2 separate regions of the Homo sapiens genome follow, and region 2 is linked to region 1. Evidence: promoter capture Hi-C in 16 types of primary human blood cells and fetal thymus (Javierre and others, 2016). All regions are on one chromosome and are shown on one strand. Each heading gives the region's core, a stretch centred on a gene start or on the middle of the fragment in contact. The rest is flanking DNA. Distances are from core to core; before and after follow the strand shown.

Evidence for each region. Contacts are between HindIII fragments. The CHiCAGO score rates a contact against its expected background, and 5 or more counts as called.
Region 2: a contact is called between the fragment with the promoter of BLOC1S1 here and the fragment with the promoter of CNPY2 in region 1, in 3 of 17 cell types (naive CD8 T cells, non-activated CD4 T cells and total CD8 T cells). The highest score is 8.1, in naive CD8 T cells.

Annotation. Positions count from the first base shown.
Region 1 is chr12:56,312,917-56,317,302 of GRCh38, reverse strand. It overlaps CNPY2 (canopy FGF signaling regulator 2), which reads left to right and starts at 1,315. Exons shown (of 6, transcript NM_014255.7): 1 at 1,315-1,482; 2 at 2,061-2,173; 3 at 2,337-2,452. The coding sequence starts at 2,086. It overlaps PAN2 (poly(A) specific ribonuclease subunit PAN2), which reads left to right. Exons shown (of 26, transcript NM_014871.6): 26 at 1-367. It overlaps CNPY2-AS1 (CNPY2 antisense RNA 1), which reads right to left. Exons shown (of 2, transcript XR_002957416.2): 2 at 2,495-2,774. RefSeq lists enhancers at 962-1,111, 1,192-1,241, 742-1,330. The HindIII fragment of the contact is 5,570 bases long and covers 214-4,386 here.
Region 2 is chr12:55,714,796-55,717,383 of GRCh38, reverse strand. It overlaps BLOC1S1 (biogenesis of lysosomal organelles complex 1 subunit 1), which reads right to left and starts at 1,338. Exons shown (of 4, transcript NM_001487.4): 1 at 1,188-1,338; 2 at 379-451. The coding sequence starts at 1,332. BLOC1S1-RDH5 (BLOC1S1-RDH5 readthrough) reads right to left here and starts at 1,350. Exons shown (of 6, transcript NR_037658.1): 1 at 1,188-1,350; 2 at 379-451. It also overlaps a transcript of ITGA7 not described here. RefSeq lists enhancers at 634-873, 1,154-1,293. The HindIII fragment of the contact is 4,864 bases long and covers 406-2,588 here.

The sequences.
Region 1 (4,386 bases), core at 66-2,565:
AAGCTCCTGGAACCATAACTGTAAGTTCCTAGCTGGCTAGGGATTGAAGTCCTGGACAGTGACAGAGGATACCACAGTAGTTCAAGACTTAGCACAAGTCACCAACTGCTTCAGGGATACCTGGAGGGGCCAGCAAGTAGAGTGTTGGTGGCCCAAGCAAACCAGTGTTGCCAATACCATTGCCAAAAGGGCCTTTGGATCCTGGACAAAGCTTGGCTGCCGGCTTCATTTATTCCTGCTGATGGCTGAGAAGCATCTGTCTTCCATCCCACTTGCCTGTCCCAAGTTTTGTTCCATTTTTTAAAAATTTGTTGTAAACTGCATGTTTTATAAAATAAAAATAAAATATCGTTTGTTATTTATCTCATTAGAGAACTGCTAGTGTGGGTTCTCTGGCTTCAGTCTTCCTCTCCTTCCTTTGAAGGTAAAGGTCCGGAATCCAAAGTTATGGATATGAAAGGGTATAATTAGGCCGGGCGCGGTGGCTCACTTCTGTAATCCTAGCACTTTGGGAGGCAGAGGTGGGTGGAACACGAGGTCAGGAGTTAAAGACCAGCCTGACCAAGATGGTGAAACCCCGTCTCTACTAAAAATACAAAAATTAGCTGGGAGTGGTGGATGGCGACTGTAACCCTAGCTGAGGCAGAAAATTGCTTCAACCCGGGAGGCGGAGGTTGCAGTGAGCCGAGATCACGCCACTGTATGCCAGCCTGGGCGATAGGGCGAGACTCCGTCTCAAAAAAAGGGGAAAAAGGTATAATTTATGCCTTTTCTGGGCAATGCTGGGTCTTTGCTATAGCTGCCCAGTACCCTAAGTCAGACTGAAGATGTACAGTATGGTTTCCGTTAATTGTGTAAGCCGACAAACTACAGGTCCCAGGATAGCTTGAGACTTGTAGTTGCTCACAAAGATGGGTCCGGTGCTGCGGTGCTTCCTGGGAGATGTAGTTTCCTGTGTATTGAAACCTGGACTGCTCGCTGGCCGGCAGCGCACCGTTTTGAAGGTCCTAGCCCACCTGGGCTGGCTCACGCGCACGACTAGCCGCTCCCATACAGCACGCCCGGACTCTGTCGTCGCTTAAGGCCACTCCTATTCTACGGCTGACCCCTGGTGGTCACGTGGATCTGTTCGCCACGCAAGTCTGGGTCCTTCGGCGATTGACCGGGGTCCTTGCTGTTCGGGAGCCTCTCCTAAGCTGCCTGTTCGCGCGAGAGTTTGGAGGGGCGGGTTTGGGGTCGGTGTCTGATTGGGGCTCGCACCGCAGCACGCTGGAGTCCCGCTTAGGTACCAGTTAGCGTCAGGGGAGCTGGGTCAGGCGGTCGCCGGGACACCCCGTGTGTGGCAGGCGGCGAAGCGCTCTGGAGAATCCCGGACAGCCCTGCTCCCTGCAGCCAGGTGTAGTTTCGGGAGCCACTGGGGCCAAAGTGAGAGTCCAGCGGTCTTCCAGCGCTTGGGCCACGGCGGCGGCCCTGGGAGCAGAGGTGGGACGGATGCGGGCGGCGAGGCGCTGGGCGCTGAGGGTTGGGGATGGACTGAAGCGAAAGCAATGGCGGAGTCCTTAGAAAGGGGGCTGGTGTCCGTACGGGTAATCACTTACGGGCTGGAGGTGGGGACGCAGGAATCTTCGGTGCAGGATCCAAATGGGCCCTAGTTATTGCTCTCCTCGCTGGCCTCCTGGCCTGACTGAGGGCTCCCTGCCGGCAGTTCCCTAGTGCCTGTAGTCCTCACGTAATCGCCAACTTACCTCCTGTAGCTGCCACAAAGCCCCGTGAACCCTAGGCATGCAGTGCTAAAGTACCAACACTTAGGGCCTCACCTATCCACGTAGAGTCTGGGGCTGAGCCGCAAGTCCTGAGCTCGCGCTCCCACCCACCACCCTGGGGGAATCAGAGCCCTCAAGCGCTGGAACAGAGAAGCCCCTTTGTGTCCCGGCCATTTCCTGGAAAGTAGAGCCAGAGTCACAATGAGGCCTTTGAAAGCCTTGGGGTGAGGATTGGGGGGGTCAGGGAAAAATGGAGTCGGCTCCTCACACTTATGTTTTATTCCCACTCAAACCCAGGTGGAGCGACCCCATTACGCTAAAGATGAAAGGCTGGGGTTGGCTGGCCCTGCTTCTGGGGGCCCTGCTGGGAACCGCCTGGGCTCGGAGGAGCCAGGATCTCCACTGTGGAGGTAAAGGCACAACGGGAAAAAGAAGTGGAGGAAGCAGAGCCTTGGGAGGGCATGAGATCCAAGGCCTGGGAGAAGGATGAATGGAAATCCTGGGTTGATCCCATTCTCCTCACACCCTACCCCCTACCCTGTCCCCTGCTCTCATTCTCTCCTCTTCCACCAGCATGCAGGGCTCTGGTGGATGAACTAGAATGGGAAATTGCCCAGGTGGACCCCAAGAAGACCATTCAGATGGGATCTTTCCGGATCAATCCAGATGGCAGCCAGTCAGTGGTGGAGGTAACTGTTACTGTTCCCCCAAACAAAGTAGCTCACTCTGGCTTTGGATGAAATTCGACTGCTTAAAAAGGACCTTGGTTTAATAGAAATGAAGAAAACAGACTCAGAAAAAAGATTTGGCTCTGTCTCATTTGGAAGAAGCTGCAGGCTTATTCCCCATGCACTTGCTTCCTGGCTGCAAACCTTAATACTTTGTTTCTGCTGTAGAATTTGTTAGCAAACAGGGAGTCCTGATCAGCACCCTTCTCCACATCCACATGACTGGTTTTTAATGTAGCACTGTGGTATACATGCAAACATCCGTTCAAAATCTGAGTCGGAGCTAAAAATAAAAAATGAAAAAACAGAAATAAGAATAAAAGGTCTTATCCTCATAATTAGGAAATTTTAATCGAAAACAACACACATGTACACAAAGGTGTATCTAATAAGCAATATATAAGGCAGTGTTAAGATTACAGTGCTAGCCTGGGCATCATGGCAAAACACCAACTCTACAAAAAAATGCAAAAGTTAGCAGTGCATGGTGGCATGTGCCTGTAGTGACAGCTGCTTGGAAGGCTGAGGTGGGAGGATCACTTGAGCCCAGGAGGTCGAGGCTGCAGTAAGCCGTGATTGTGCCACTGCACTCCAGCCTGGGAAACACAGCAAGACCCTGTCTCAAAAAAAAACCAAAACCCAGCACTTTGGGAGGCCAAGGCAGGCGGATCACCTGAGGTTAGAAGTTCGAGACCAGCCTGGCCAACATGGTGAAACTCCGTCTCTACTAAAAATACAAAAAAGTAGCCAGGCGTGGTGGCTCATGCCTATAGTCCCAGCTACTCAGGAGGCTGAGGCAGGAGAATCACTTGAACCCAGGAGGCAGAGGTTGCAGTGAGCCAAGATCGCACCACTGCACTCCAGTCTGGTTGACAAGAACAAAACTCTGTCTTGAAAAAAAAAAAAGGCCGGGCGCGGTGGCTCACGCCCGTAATGCCAGCACTTTGGGAGGCTGAGGTGGGCAGATCACAAGGTCAGGAGATCGAAACCATCCTGGCTAACATGGTGAAACCCCGTCTCTACTAAAAATACAAAAAATTAGCCGGGCGTGGTGGTGGGTGCCTGTAGTCCCAGCTACTCAGGAGGCTGAGACGAAAAGAATGGCGTGAACTCGGGAGGCAGAGCTTGCAGTGAGCTGAGATGGTGCCACTGCACTCTAGCCTGGGCGACACAGCGAGACTCCTCTCAAAAAAAAAAAAAGAAAAGAAAAAAGATTATGGTACTTTAATAGCTGTTGTTCACAGAGCCTACACTACATCTTTAATACTGTGCTTACTGAGGATATTAGTCTCAATTTAAACAAAATTATTATTATTTTTTTGAGATGGAGTTTAGGGCTTGTTGCCCAGGCTGGAGTGCAATGACACGATCTCGGCTCACCGCAACCTCTGCCTCCCGGGTTCAAGCGATTCTCCTGCCTCAGCCTCCCGAGTAGCTGGGATTACAGGCATGCACCACCACACCTGGATAATTTTGTATTTTTAGTAGAGACAGGGTTTCTCCATGTTGGTCAGGATGGTCTCGAACTCCTGACCTCAAGTGAGCCACCCTCCTCGGCCTCTCAAAGTGCTGGGATTACAGGCGTGAGCCACCACGCCCGGCCAAAAATAAAATATTAATGAACACATGGACACAGGGAGGGGAACGTCACACATCAGGTCCTGTTGGGGTGTTGGGGGCTAGGGGAGGGATAGCATTAGGAGAAATACCTAATGTAGATGACAGGTTGATGGGTGTAGCAAACCACCATGGCACATGTATACCTATGCAACAAACCTGCACGTTCTGCACATGTATCTCAGAACTTAAACTATAATTTAAAAAAAAATTATCTTCATCTATAGAAATTAGAAGTATAAGTTGATCAGGTTAATCAAAAAATTCTGTTTATAACT
Region 2 (2,588 bases), core at 89-2,588, 600 kb after region 1:
AGAGGGTGGGAGGCAGAGGAGAGGGTGGTAAGCTGTAATGAAGGAGGGTGCTCTCCCTCCTGCTGAAGTGACAGCTGGACTTGGAAGGGTGAAGGGAGGTGGGCAGATGGCATCAAGTTGTAAATGCCAGGGAAGTTAACGTGGGGAAGGGGAAATCTGGCTGCTTCTCTAACCACGGCAGCTGTTCCTCCCTTGCCCAGTGCTAGGACTCAGAGTTGACTCAAGTTGCTCTACAAAGAGCTGGGAGGGGCGGGGTAGGATAGGGGAATTAGTGGAACATCCCACCCCTTCAACAGCTATTTGAGGGCCAGACTGGCCAGTGCCTAAACTTGGGCGGGGTGGGGAAGGAGGAAACTGATGTTGATAAGAGGTCCATACCCCACATTGAGGTGATCCACCAAAGCTTCTGTCAGGCAGGTCGCTGCAGTGATAGCCTCTCGCCTCCTCTTTTCTGGGGAGAGGGGGAAAAGGAATTGGAGGGGAGACTTGGTTTTTTGAGGGGTAGTGTTAAAGGTTCCCTACCCATCCATTACTATTCTGCTAGTTGCCGAAATTTCTTAACTAATCTCTGAATGCCGGAGCTGAAAAGGACCTTGCAAAACATAGCGCAACCTCTTTCATTTTAGAGATGAGGAAACTGGTACCCTGGGAGGGAAATGGACTCACTCAGGGACGCCAGGAAGTCAGCGGCAGCGCCCAGGACTCCTGACTCCCAGGCACTCTTTCTCCACTACTCGGCCGCAGAATCGGTAACTCCGAGATTTCCAGCCCGGACTCAGGAAACAAGTGCCCCACCTCCGTTCCGGTGGTTTCAGGCCTCCAAGAAGCCCATCTCTGGGGGGTTCCCCACACCCTCCTCCCTCCAGAGTCGCTCCTTCCCGCCGCCAGGACGAGAGGCTCCCAGGGCCAATAGGCAGGGCGCTCCGGGGCAGGGGCGGGGCTAAGGTGCGGCAGGTCGGGGATTGGGGGCGTTGCCGAGGGGACCGGAGTATTGCCCAAGGGACCGGAGCCAGTTGGCAAGGGAAAGGAGTTTCAAAAAAAGCCTCTCTGAAATTCCCTCTCCCCCATGCCCGTTGCCCGCTAGCTGGCGTCTTTCCCTGGATATGGTTAGTTACTCGAGATCCAGGCTCCGGGCTGAAGCTAGGCCGCGGCCGAAGAGAAAACGGCCGACAGGATATTTGGCTCACCCTGCAGCTCCTTGCGTTCATTCTGCTTGGCCTGGTGTTCTTTTAGGAGGCGGGACAGCATGGTCACGTCGGGCTGGGGGCTGGGTACGCCGGGCCCCCTCCGGCTCCGGAAGCTGGAACGCTCACCTCGGCTCCCCGGGGCCATGTCACGTGACCGCTGTGTCACGTGAGGTTGGGAACCGCCCTCTTGAGACCTTGGGTGAAGATCTTGGCGGGGAAGAGAGGTAGAGGGTTGCGGAGGGCAGGTGAAGTGTTCTTTATTGGGAGCTTAGTTTTTGGTGAGTGTTGGAAGAAGTATTTTCTAATACTTATATTGCCAAGCCAGTTTTTAACATTTCCTGTGGATCTCAGGCTTCGAGGGCTGGTGGTGTCAGGCCGTCTATCACCGTTTAATTGAGGGAGCAGAAGCTCCCTGGCCTCATTTAAATTATTCTCCTTCCCTCTCCTCACCTCCTGGCAGTGCTAGCTGGTTCTCAGTTGATTCCCAGTTCCTTCCCTCAAGGAGAGGATGCTTTCCTGTCTCTCCCAACCCTCTTTCTTCTCACTACCCCACTGAAGTCTCTCAGCTCTGGGTGATCATTGTAGAGAAGCATTTTAGGCACTTCAGACAGCCTCCTAGGGAGCTTGGCTAACTTGGCGGGCTGTGTGAATGTAGAATTTCATCTCTGTCCTTTTGTGGTCAGGAATGCGAACCCATTTCAGTGTTAGCAGAAGCGTAAGTGCTGTGCCAAAGTAAAAAGTAATTTATATAAGGCCTCTGTGAACTAAAAAGAAATGCTTCCGGGATTAACTCCAGCGAGAACAATTATAAACATCATGAGCATATTCTTGCTACTGGTACAATCTCTCTCGGTGCACCTTGCACTAACATGTTGGGTGACTTTGGGCAAGTTGCTCACCATTCTAGGTTATAGTTTTCTCTTTAGTAAAACTAGGAGAAGGGATTGGATTAAATCGGTGGTTCTCAACCCTGGCTAAGCATTAGAATCTAAACATTAGAATCACAGAAATCACAAGGCTTATAAAAATGCCGTGATTAGCCGGGTGCGGTGGCTCACGCCCGTAATCCCAGCACTTTGGGAGGCCGAGGCGGGCGGATCACGAGGTCAGGAGTTCGAGACCAGGCTGACCAACATGGTGAAACCTTGTATCTACTAAAAATACAAAATTTAGCCAGGCGTAGTGGCACAAGCCTGTAATCCCAGCTACTCAGGAGCCTGAGGCAGGAGAATCGCTTGAACCTGGGAGGCAGAGGTTGCAGTGAGCCGAGATCACGCCACTGAACTCCAGCCTGGGCGACAGAGTGGGACTCTGTCTCAAAAAAAAAAAAAAAAAAGCCTTGATTCCAGACTAATTAAATAGAATCTAAGGAGTGAAGACCAAACATCACTATATATATGT